2 separate regions of the Homo sapiens genome follow, and region 2 is linked to region 1. Evidence: promoter capture Hi-C in 16 types of primary human blood cells and fetal thymus (Javierre and others, 2016). All regions are on one chromosome and are shown on one strand. The core of a region is centred on a gene start or on the middle of the fragment in contact, and the rest is flanking DNA. Distances in the headings are between cores, read along the strand shown.

Region 1 (5,441 bases), core at 64-2,563:
CACGCCCGTGATACCAATCTGGCACTCTGGGAGGCTGAGGCAGGTGGATCGCTTGAGTCCGGAAGTTTGAGACCAGCCTGGGCAACATAATGAAACCCTGTCTCTTCTAAAAATACAAAAAATTAGCTGGGCGTGGTGGCACACATCTGTAATCCCAGCTACTCAAGAGGCTAAGGTGGGAGAATCACCTGGGCCCCAGAGATCGAGGCTGCAGTGAGCCAAGATGGCACCACTGCACTCCAACCTGGGCAACCAGAGTGAGACCCTGTCTCAAAAAAAAAGAAAAAGAGAGAAAGAGAGGGAGGAGGGAGGGAGGGAGGGAGTGAGGGAAGGGAGGGAGGGAGGGAGGGAAGGAGGGAAGGGAGGAAGGAAGGAAGGAAGGAAGGAAAGAAGGAAGGAAGGAAGGAAGGAAGGAAGGAAGGAAGGAAGGAAGGAAGGAAAGGAAAGGAAGGAAGGAAGGGCGAGCCCCAGCCCCACTGGATTGGCTTTCCTTGGCTACAGAAATGTAACCATGGGGCCCCTGTGCATCACCCCTAGAGGGCCCCCAAGCACCCTGAAGCAACAGATGCTGGCCCATGCCTCTGTGTGGTTCATGGTCCCCAAGGCACTGTGTGTCCTCTGTTGTGGATGGTAGAAGTAGCAGTAGGAATAATGATAGGAGCCAGCGTTTATTGAAACTTATTGGATGCTAGACACTGTTCCAAGCACTTTGCCTGTATTAATTTAATGTTTGCTGTGTTACCTCCGTGTCTTTCTTTCATGAGACTCTGGGTCAACCATGAGGACCACAGAGAGATTTTCTGTGAGCCCTGGCTGGAAAAGACTGGCTCAGACTATTCCCTAGGAAGCCCCAAGCATGACCCCCACTTAGCATTTCTTTCTACCTCTCATGGGCAGGGACCCCAAACCATACTCTGCACCCAAAACCCTTGTTCTTCTGTGATCCATTTGTGGACTAGGCAGTTGTGTTAACTAGAGATGCAGTTCTAATGCACCTTGCTTTATTCCAAATGCAGGGGCTCCAAGGTGTTCCTGGACCAAAGGTAAGGAGAAGTCACATGACAGGCGCTGTGTCAGTGCTAGTAGAAAAGAGGGAAAGTGCACCTGAGACCAGCTGACCCTTTTTCCTAGAAGGCATTAGGTGACACTCCAGCCAAGGGGGTCCAGTCAGGGCAGGAGGAAGTCCTAGATTCCCTTTAGCATCCATCATTGACACCTGGTGTGCTTTGGCTTCAGAAGCTTCCCATCTGTCACCCCACAAAGGGACAGGTTAGATTCTTAGCCAATGGTTAAAATCCTTTTCCCATCAAACCTGCCCTGGCCCCTTCACTCATGCCGAGTAGAGGTGGGAGAGAGACAGCAACATAGGGTGGGACCCCTCCCTGGGTCAAGCTTGGGGGGACTCTGCACTGGGCTCTCCCGGCCTCCCCTGAACCATTTCAAATGGATGAGGGGGCTGGGGGCTGTTGATGTGACAATGGCCCTTTCCTCATGCCCTGGTATTCAAGAGACTTCGGGGCAGTTTGTTCTCCCGACTAGGCTGTGAGCCTCAGGGCTCTGGAGGTAGCATCTCAGGCATCTGAGCAAATCTCTGTAAGGTTCCCATTCTCCTGCCATGCAGTTGGGCACCTGTGCCAAGGCCTGACCTGTGGGTTTGTCCCCAGGCCACCTAGTCCTTTTCTCTGTGGGGCTCTCAAAGCTCCCACAGGATACAGGGGCTACTAACTGAGGCGAGAGTAGGCTAAGAATTCAGGGATTCTTGGTATCCTCAGCCTGCCACCCTGACCCCTCCTTCCTCTACAAATGCCACCCCAGCCTCCAGGACCCCAGAATGCAAGAATGAATTGTCTGGGACATGTCCTTGTGTGATCTCGTCCCCTCTCCCTTTCCTCCAGGGGGAAGCAGGACTAGATGGAGCAAAAGGAGAGAAAGGCTTCCAGGGAGAAAAAGGAGACCGTGGTCCCCTGGGACTACCCGTAAGTACCTTGGACCCAGCAAGACTGGTGGGTTTGATGGGCCAGGGGTGTGGGCTGGGACTGGGGGACAGCCAGCGGAAAGCTAAGGTTCTAGAGTCTGAGCATCCAGAGTTCCATGTGGTTTGTCTTTCCCACCTGGGCAAGACCACAGGCTCTGATTCTCTTCCTCCTCTGGGCCCAGGCCCCACCTTGGTGCTGGGGAAAGGCAATGCTGAAGAAGACAGGCTCCCCCACCCCAAGGGGCACTGAGCTGGGAGGGCAGCTTCAGGCCCTGCTTGAGCCTGGTTCAGAAGCAATCAAAGCCTGCTGCCTTTACGGGGCCAAGCTTGGAGGGTTTGGAAGTAGTGGGACAAGAAGATAGTCTCCATTACAGTCCATTTTCCCAGAGGGACCCCAAGAGAACTCTTGCTCCCCCCTCTTAAGCACTGGTCATTGCAGAAAGGCACAGACAAAGTCAGACTTTGTGGTCCCAGCAGGCCAAGGCCGTTCATCTCCTGGGTTCGTGGAGATCTCTGATCTCAGCCTGCCCAGAGCCAGAAGCCCCAGGTCAGAGGTGGGGAGCTGCTCAGAAGGTGTTCACATGTCATGATATGGGGCTGGGCTGGATAGGGCTGATGGCCTCTTCACTGCCTCACCTGTGTACAGGTGAGCGCATCCCACCACCCTCCCTGGAGCCCGGGCTCCATGCCCCCTAACCCTCCACTGAGGTTGGCATTCTTCCAAGAGCTGGAAGGGATGTTAGCGATCCATCCCATCATTTCACTGATGGTCCCAGAGAAGAAAGTGGGTCACTGGAGGTCACATACAAAGTTGGTGGCCAAGCCAGAGGCTGATCTGAGGCCATGGCCTTGCAAAGCGACTCCTTCCAGCCACTCAGGCTTCCTCTGTCCTGGGCTCAAGGCCAGTTCCCACCCCAGGTAGCCATAAAGAGCAGAGAAACAATGGAAAGCCCAGTTACCCCCGCTTGGCAGAGCTTGAAGGCCTGGTTAATACAATCACAGCAACCAAACAGCAAATGCAGGAGGTATAATTATACCCTCATGAATGCATTCGAGGTAGGAATATTTAAGAAGCCAATCTGCTTGACAGACTACAGAAAACTGATGACTTTAGCAGGCATTTTCCCATGTCTTAAGCTGTGTCTGGAATGATTAAGTGCTCCTTACTATTAAAGAGCCTTCCTGCCCCACTCAACCACAAACCTCTTCTTATCCACATTCATGGCCCCAACGACCTTGATGAACACTCGAGAATTCAGTCAGGGGTTGAAATGCAAAAGGCACAGCGACCAAACAGGTAATATTAATATAAACAAGGAAAGTGCCAGATGAAAGACAAAGTACCTACTCTATCATTAATTTTCTCACTTTTGATAGAGGCATGGGTACAGAGAAGTATTTTTTTTTAGTTTAAGTAAACAACAGAACAAGCATTCATATGAGACAACTGACACAAACCTGAGGGAGACACTAGGGAGTGGAGGGGACTGTGGTGCACTAGAGACCGTGTATCCCTTCTTAAGGGGAACCGTCCCTTCTCAGCTCAGCTGACTGTTGCCTTGGAGGAAGGCGGAGCTGGTATTTCTGGATCTTCCTATTTTTCAAAGGAAGTTAAACATCTGGTGTTTTATGTGAAATCTTTCCATTTTCTAATATTAGATCAAAATTATTTGCAACACTGCAGACCATAAAAAATATGTCAGTGGCCCACATATGGCCTGAAAGCCTCTAATTTGTGCTTTCTGCTCCAGACCTCTCAAGACAACTGAGTTTTAATGCTGCATTTTTTTAAAGTACATGGATATTTAGCTACCATTCTGTTTCCAGGTTTCACCTGGATGTTTTATTCTATGTAGTAGCAGCCTGCTTCTCCAGGCATATCCTGGAGTGTTCCCCCATTTGCCCTGCAGAAGCAATTCTCAATGCTGGCTGCACACTGGAATCCCCTGAGAGCTTTTCAAACTCACCATCACCCCGGGCTTCACTCTTGGAGATTTTGAATTGCATCGGGCTGGGATGGGGTGGGACCCAGGCATCTGTTTTATTTAACATTGCCCCCAAGAGATTCTAATGTGCTGCCAGGGCTGAGAACCACAGCTCTCTAGCCCAGTGAGTCAAGGTCGGTCCCAGAATCGTGTGGTCCTAAATCTGAGAAGAGTCCCTGCAGAGTCCTTCTACCCAACACCTTTTCCATGAAGCAGCAGCTCGTTGCCTCCTTCTTGGGACTTCCTTTTCATTTGAAATTCTGAGGCTGAGGCTCAGTTGGAAGCAGTTTTCAAGCACTCAGTCCTTACCAGGCCAGAGTATTGCCGCTGCCTTCTCCCTGACTTGTCACATTGGAATCATTAGAAAAGGGTCCCTGGGTTTTCCTGGGTGGGTTTCAGAGGCAGCTTCATAACCCAGGGTTGGAACAGGAGTGCCACCCCACCCCCGACCCACCAACCTTGTATTTCACTGGACAAGAGCAAGTAAGGGTGCTGATAGCAGGTTGGTCTCAGTAGCTTCCCACCTGCTGCCCATTTGCTCTGGGAAATACATGGCCTTAGACCTCTGTCCCAGGCCGCTGCCTCCAAAGCCTTTGCCTACACAAGAGCCCTTGTCTGGGAGCATATGAATGGATCGAGTTTAGGTTGAGCATCTCAGACTGTAAAGTGCCAGCGAAATGTCAGGCATCATTTGTAATATCATCTAAGAGCCAACTCATTCCCCCAGGGTGAAGGATAAGCAGAACAACTCCTACCCAGATTTCACAACTGGGTGCTGTCACCCAGGGCTGAGACCCTCAGGGGCACCCCAGCATGGCCTGATCCAAACAGGAATGCAAAGAGGCTGGGAGAGCCGTCCTCACCTGGGGCCCCTCCCCAGTGAAACCTGTCCTGGGAAGGGTGCACAGCTCTGATTCCAAGACATCTCTCTAAGCATTCCTTTCTGTATCCCTTTCCCCATAACACTGAAGGGAGAGGGGTTTCTGAGAGGGAATAAAGGGAGAGAGGAGAAGGGGGGCGGGAGGAGCAGGTGGCCATCTGCGCCGACCTCCACCCAGCCTGCTCAGCAGCCAGCCACTGCATTCAGTGTCTCCATGTTTTCGTTGGTTTCCATGTAAATACCATTCCGTGTCCTCCCAAGCTTATTTCTCCAGTTGTGTTTGATTACCAGCATTTATGTCTGTCCAGAGTCACTGCTTTACTCACCTCTTCCCTCCCCATTGTTCCCTTTTTCTCCCTCCCAATCCTCTCTTCCCCTTCTTTTGGTCAAACTGTGCCCTTCGTCCAGGGAGCTTCAGGTTTGGACGGCAGGCCTGGGCCACCGGTGAGTGTCACTTCTCCATCACCCCTCACCCCACTCCACTCCACACCTGGCCTGTGATCCCTTTTGTCTGTCCCACTGTGGCCTCATTTTCCCAGTGAATCATGCCTGGTCCCACCTCCGACACCAGAAAGGTGCCACTGATGCTCTGAAGTGCCTT
Region 2 (5,553 bases), core at 1,245-3,744, 210 kb after region 1:
AGTGAGCACTGTGGGCCAGGTTTGGTGTTAGTGTTTTGTGGACATCACTTTATTTAGTCTTCACGACCCTATAAACTAGGCACTGGCATTATCTCCATTTTAGGTGGTATAACTGAGGCCCAGAGACGCTCAGTAACATTCCCAACACCAAACAAAGTGGGAGGAGCCAAGGCAAACACAACACTTTCCTTCACTGCCTCGTTGATACCCACAACAATCCCGTCAGTTGGTGGGTCAGATATGACATGGTTTCACTCCTCTGGGTCCCTATTTACGTACACGCTAACACTTCTGTAGCACACGACGTGACAGGCTCCGTTCCACGACATTCAGCGTCAACTCCCGGGGAGGCAGCTTAGACAGGTTAAGTGACTTGCCCGGGATCAGACAGGGGCGTCCTACTACACACTCTGCAGGGGTAGCTTCCAACAGACCTGGCAGTCTCCTTAGGAGCAAGGGGCATGTGGGGGGAGTGGAAGGAATCTGGTGGGGGCCACACACCATAGGCAAACCTTCATCATCAGTCTTCCCTATAAAGTCATGGCTGTCCTATAGGCCACAGTGGGGACACCTATGGCAAAACTGGGCAGTGTTACCCACACCTGGCTAAGCTTGGGGATTCAGGAAGAGATTTGGAAAAGCCTGGGCTGCAAGGCTGGGCTGAACCATGTACAGCTGCGTGGGCCACCCCCCTACCTTCTGATTACGTAGAAACTCACGTTTCACTCAGACGGGAAGCTCTGGCTAAGCACTAAAAGATGGATAAAATTAACATACCCATCTCCTTACCCCAGGAGAGCACCATCCTGGGCCTCTGGGACCTTATCACTTTCAGAGGAGAAGCAGCAGGGTTAGGGAATCTCTGTTCAAAGGGCCAGAGAACCGAGGGGTATGGCGTGCAGGGCTATCAGACAGTGAAGCTGCCCAGAAGAAACTCAGCCTTTGAGGGGAGCTCAAAGATGCCCTGTTCCGGATTCAGGGTGTCCCACAGTACCCAAATCCAGAGCTGCTTCGAGCTTGACACCTTGCCCCAGATTCTCCCCACAGGGGTTCTGGGTATAAAGGATGAGGGGAGGGTTCCAGGTCTCTACCCACTACACGCCCAAAGCATCCGCGTGACACAAGAAAGGCCTGCACAATACTCAAGAGTATTAGGGCTGGACCCAGATCTGAGACCTGGAAAGGGATGAAGTGGCGTCAGCCCTGCGGGCTTACTTGGGGGTGGTGGAGCGCACCAGGACCCTGGCTGCTTCCCGAGGGGACACGTGCCGACAGGTCACTACAAGGCGGGGTGCCACAGCCACTCCGGAGCCCCATACGGTGCCGCACTCCACCAACACTGCCGCGGCTGCCCACAGGGGCCCGGAGTCTCGGAGGGGCAGACCCCACGGGACGCCCACCTCTGGCGGCAGAAGGGCGGCCAGGGCAGCGGTGCTGTGCGGCAGGCGGTGAAGCGCGTCGCGGGCGGCGCGGAAAAGGGGGGCGGCGGCGCAGAGCAGCGTGAAGCCCACCCATTCGCCGGCCTTCCAACAGAGCGGCGCCACCACCAGCGCCACCAGCGCCCCCGCGGGCCGCGCGGTGAACACGCCGCCGCCCTCGGTGCCGGGCAGGCAGCGTGCGTCGGTAAGCAGCAGTGGGCCGGCCACGTTGCTGAGCACCCCGCAGCTCAGCGTGTTGAGAAAGATGTCGGGGCAGAAGGCGCCGAAAGGGGAGCCGCAGACCAGCAATGGCGCACCCTTGGGCACGGCCCCGAGAGGCGACACCGCCATGGCTGGCCCGCGCTCCTCCTCCACCTCCTCCTGGCCTAGCCGCACGCCCAGCAGCGCAAACCAGCCCAGCGCTCTCAGTTGATCCGCCTCCTCGTCCTCCGACACTTCGTCATCCCGCGCCGCGCTCGAGAAGCGCCACTGTTCCGCTGCCTCGTCCCCGAAGAGGCGCGCGAAGTGGGCCCAGAAGGCCGGGCAGCTCAGCAGCAGCAGCAGCTCAGCAGGAAGCCGGGGCTGCAGGGGACGCCCGCGGGACGGGGCAGGTGGGCCGGGCTCGAGGCTCGCGCACTGGGGCGTGCACAGCCCTGGGCGGCCCCGCTCCGCGCCGCCCCCGGGACCCGCGGCCGTTGGGGCCCACTGCACGTGCAGGCGCAGGTCGTCCCTGCAACTGTCGCCAGGCAGGAAGACGGCGCCGGCCGCGGTCAGGACTTCGCTGCCAGCTCGCAGGAAGGGGACGAAGATGCCCCCGTGGCAAAGCACCAGGCCCGGGCTACGGCTCAGGATTACCCCGCTGCAGCTCCACGGGCCCGCCTCGGGCTGTCCGGCCCGGGAGGCGCTCACCATGCAGCCCGCCTGCTCGGCCGCCCTCATGGCAGACCCCCACTGCCTTCTCATGGCCTCTAGGCCGGACACTCGGGAGCTTCTCCGAGAAACAGCAAGCTAGCGAGCGAGGACCCCTACCCGGTCCGGCTGAAGCTGCCTAGCGCCACCCACAGCTGGAAGCGAGAGGCGCAAGCTCTGACTCACGTCTTCCTCATCGAGCCCGATTGGCTAAGCCCCAATTGACCCGACCCGATTGGCTGGGCTTGTACCGAGCTCTGATTGGCTTCCTATTCTGATTTTTTTTTTCCTTTCCCCGCCCTCGTTAGTTTGTCCAACCGGTGGGACATAATCTGCCCCATTCCCCCGGATGAGCCCCGGGGAGAGTAAGAGGAGTGCGGCGTCACGAGGAATCAGAGGAGAGGAGGGTGGGTCCCTTCAAGCCTAGTCTCGTTTGCTGGAATGTGGGAAAGGGAATAGAAATGAGCGCTGACGTGCCTAGATTTGCCCAGGCCACGACAGTACCTGTGAGCATCTGCCCAGGTCTAGGCGACCTTCAGCCTCTGACCCTTGGGATAATATGGACCAAGGAAATCCTTGGCCAATTCAGTGTTTTGAAAATTTAAAAGTAAACCCTATAGCAATCCACTAGGGGGCATGGAACTCTCAAGATTACTCCTAGGATTTTTTTTTGCTGCCAAAGCCCCAACACAAATCTCCGAGAAACTGGATTTGCTGTAAATTAAATTGCCCTTTAAATCGACTATGAACAGTAGCTGAAATCAAAAATTTTAATCATACAGGCCTATATTTTACAGTGTGCACATTTCACATAACATAACCACCAGCCAGGATTTATCTAGGCCAGGGTCCAAATACTTTCTGTAGAAGGCCAGAATGGAAACAGTTCCAGTTTGGGGGGACCATACAACTTGTCTCAAATAGTCAACTCTGCAGCTGTTGCATACAAAAGCTAAAGGAATGGCGGTGGCTGTGTCCCAATAAAAAGATACAGACATTGAAATTTTAATTTCATACAATTTTTTGTGTCCAAAAATAGCATTCTTTAAATATTTTTTCCAACCATTTAAATATGTAAAAACCTTTCTTTGCTCACAGGCCATACAAACACAGGCAGCAGGCCCGATTTGACCCACAAGGCATAGTTTACCATCTCTAGTGTACACTAACATAAACTGCTCTACTTTTCCAAAGAAGTACGCTTTAGGACAGAGGAGGATGAACGAGTATGTCGGGGAGTGGGGGGGCGCGGAGCTTCATGATACCCTCAATCAGTCACCACAAGCTAGACAGTTTACAAAGGTCTGCTTTATCACTGAATTGATAAAATACACATTATTTTTTATTTATTTATTTATTTTTTTGAGACGGAGTCTCGCTCTGTCGCCCAGGCTGGAGTGCAATGGTGCGATCTCCGCTCACTGCAAACTCCGCCTCCTGGGTTCACGCTATTCTCCTGCCTCAGCCTCCCCAGTCGCTGGGACTACAGGCGCCTGCCACCACGCCCAGCTAATTTTTTGTATTTTTAGTAGAGACGGGGTTTCACCGTGTTAGCCAGGATGGTCTCGATCTCCTGACCTTGTGATCCGCCCGCCTCGGCCTCCCAAAGTGCTGGGATTACAGGCGTGAGCCACCGTACCCGGCCATCATTAATTTTTATTAAGGTTACTGTATTGCTTACCATATACAATTGCTACTTAAATTCTCTAATCTTTCTGCCTGAATTCTTTAAATAAAGTTAACACTGCTTGGTATAACCCCAGCACAACACAGGATAATGCTCCCAGTACTCCCAGTGACACAAACCTGCTAGAGAAAGGAAAACGATTATCCATGATAGTATGAGGCAGGAATAAAATTAGGCCATCTTGCCATAGCAGGCGGTCTTCTTTTGGTTCTATGACACAGAAGGTGGCTTGATCACAGCACAATTTCTTTATCCCAACTTCCTAGCAATCAAAGAGTTTTTCTCTTGGTGGAGCACAGGGGCTCACACTTGGAATCCCAGCACGTTGGGAGGCTGAGGTAGGAGAATTTCCTGAGCCCAGGAGTTTGAGACCAGCCTGGGCAACATGATGAGACCTTAACTCTACAAAAATTTTGAAAACTAGCTGAGCACGGTGGTGCAACCCTGTGGTCCCAAGCTACTTGGGAGGCTGAGATGGGAGGATCACTTAAGCCCAGGAGGTCAAGGCTGCAGTGACCTATGTTCATACCACTGCACTCCAGCCTGGGCGACAGAGTGAGACCAACTCAAAAAACAAACAAACAAACAAACAAACAAACTTTCTCTCTCGAGTCCAGTGATTCTCCCTCAACGCTCAAGACTCCAGCATGAACTGTTAGGCATTGGGTTTTTCTGTGTTTACAGCAGACCATGGTAAAAAGAAGTCCCAAGTCACAGCCAGAACGCCAAAGTAAGATCTGTTGAGTGCTAGGCTCATGGACTGAGCCTAATCTTATTTTCCACTCTGCCTCAAACAAAACAACTCATTTGCCCATACAACCCATGGCATCCTTTCACAGTAACAAGGACAACAGGACACCTCCAGTACTTTTTATTTTTTTTGAGATGGGAGTCACCCAGGCTGGAGTGCAGTGGCGCGATCTCGGCTCACTGCAACCTCCGCTTCCCCGATTCAAGCGATTCTCCTGCTTCAGCCTCCTGAGTAGCTGGGATTAAAGGTGCGTCCCACCGTGCCTGGCTAATTTTTGTATTTTTAGTAGAGACGGAGCTCTGCCATGTTGGTCAGGCTGGCCTTGAACTCCTGACCTCATGACCCGCCCGCCTTGGCCTCCCAAAGCGCTAGGATTACAGACGTGAGCCACCGCGCCCGGCAATATCTCCAATACTTTAATACTTGGTTGAAAAGAACCCATTGCACTGTTTCCCACTGTTTGTCCCAGTACTTTAGTTTTATGATCTCATTTGGGTTTTTGTAAAAGCAGTCTTCCTACAAGCCTAGTAAAGGAAATTCTTTCTTTCTCATTTTGCCAAATGTAGCATTTAATTGATTTTTTTTTTTTTTTTTTTTTTGAGCTAGAGAGAGTCTTGCTCTGTCACCCAGGCAGGAGTACAGTGGCATGATCTCGGCTCACTTCAATCTCCACCTCCTAGTTCAAGCGATTCTCCGCCTCAGCCTCCAGAGTAGCTGGGAGCTACTCCATGTACCACAATGCCCAGCTAATTTTTTTGTATTTTAGTAGTGATGGGGTTTCACCCTGT

Evidence for each region. The method cuts DNA at HindIII sites, captures the fragments that hold promoters and counts their contacts. A CHiCAGO score of 5 or more calls a contact.
Region 2: the fragment with the promoter of TYSND1 here is called in contact with a fragment that was not itself captured in region 1 in 1 of 17 cell types (M0 macrophages); the score reaches 5.2 in M0 macrophages.

What each region holds. Positions count from the first base shown.
Region 1 is chr10:69,935,740-69,941,180 of GRCh38, forward strand. COL13A1 (collagen type XIII alpha 1 chain) reads left to right here. Exons shown (of 41, transcript NM_001368882.1): 33 at 1,017-1,043; 34 at 1,896-1,976; 35 at 5,249-5,284. Among named protein-coding and RNA genes, the nearest start is that of LINC02636, 71 kb to the right of the region's middle. The HindIII fragment of the contact is 153 bases long and covers 1,238-1,390 here.
Region 2 is chr10:70,144,206-70,149,758 of GRCh38, forward strand. It overlaps TYSND1 (trypsin like peroxisomal matrix peptidase 1), which reads right to left and starts at 2,495. Exons shown (of 4, transcript NM_173555.4): 1 at 1,216-2,495. The coding sequence starts at 2,381. SAR1A (secretion associated Ras related GTPase 1A) reads right to left here. Exons shown (of 7, transcript NM_020150.5): 7 at 3,084-5,553. RefSeq lists silencers at 1,397-1,626, 1,957-2,266 and an enhancer at 1,757-1,806. The HindIII fragment of the contact is 18,251 bases long and covers 610-5,553 here.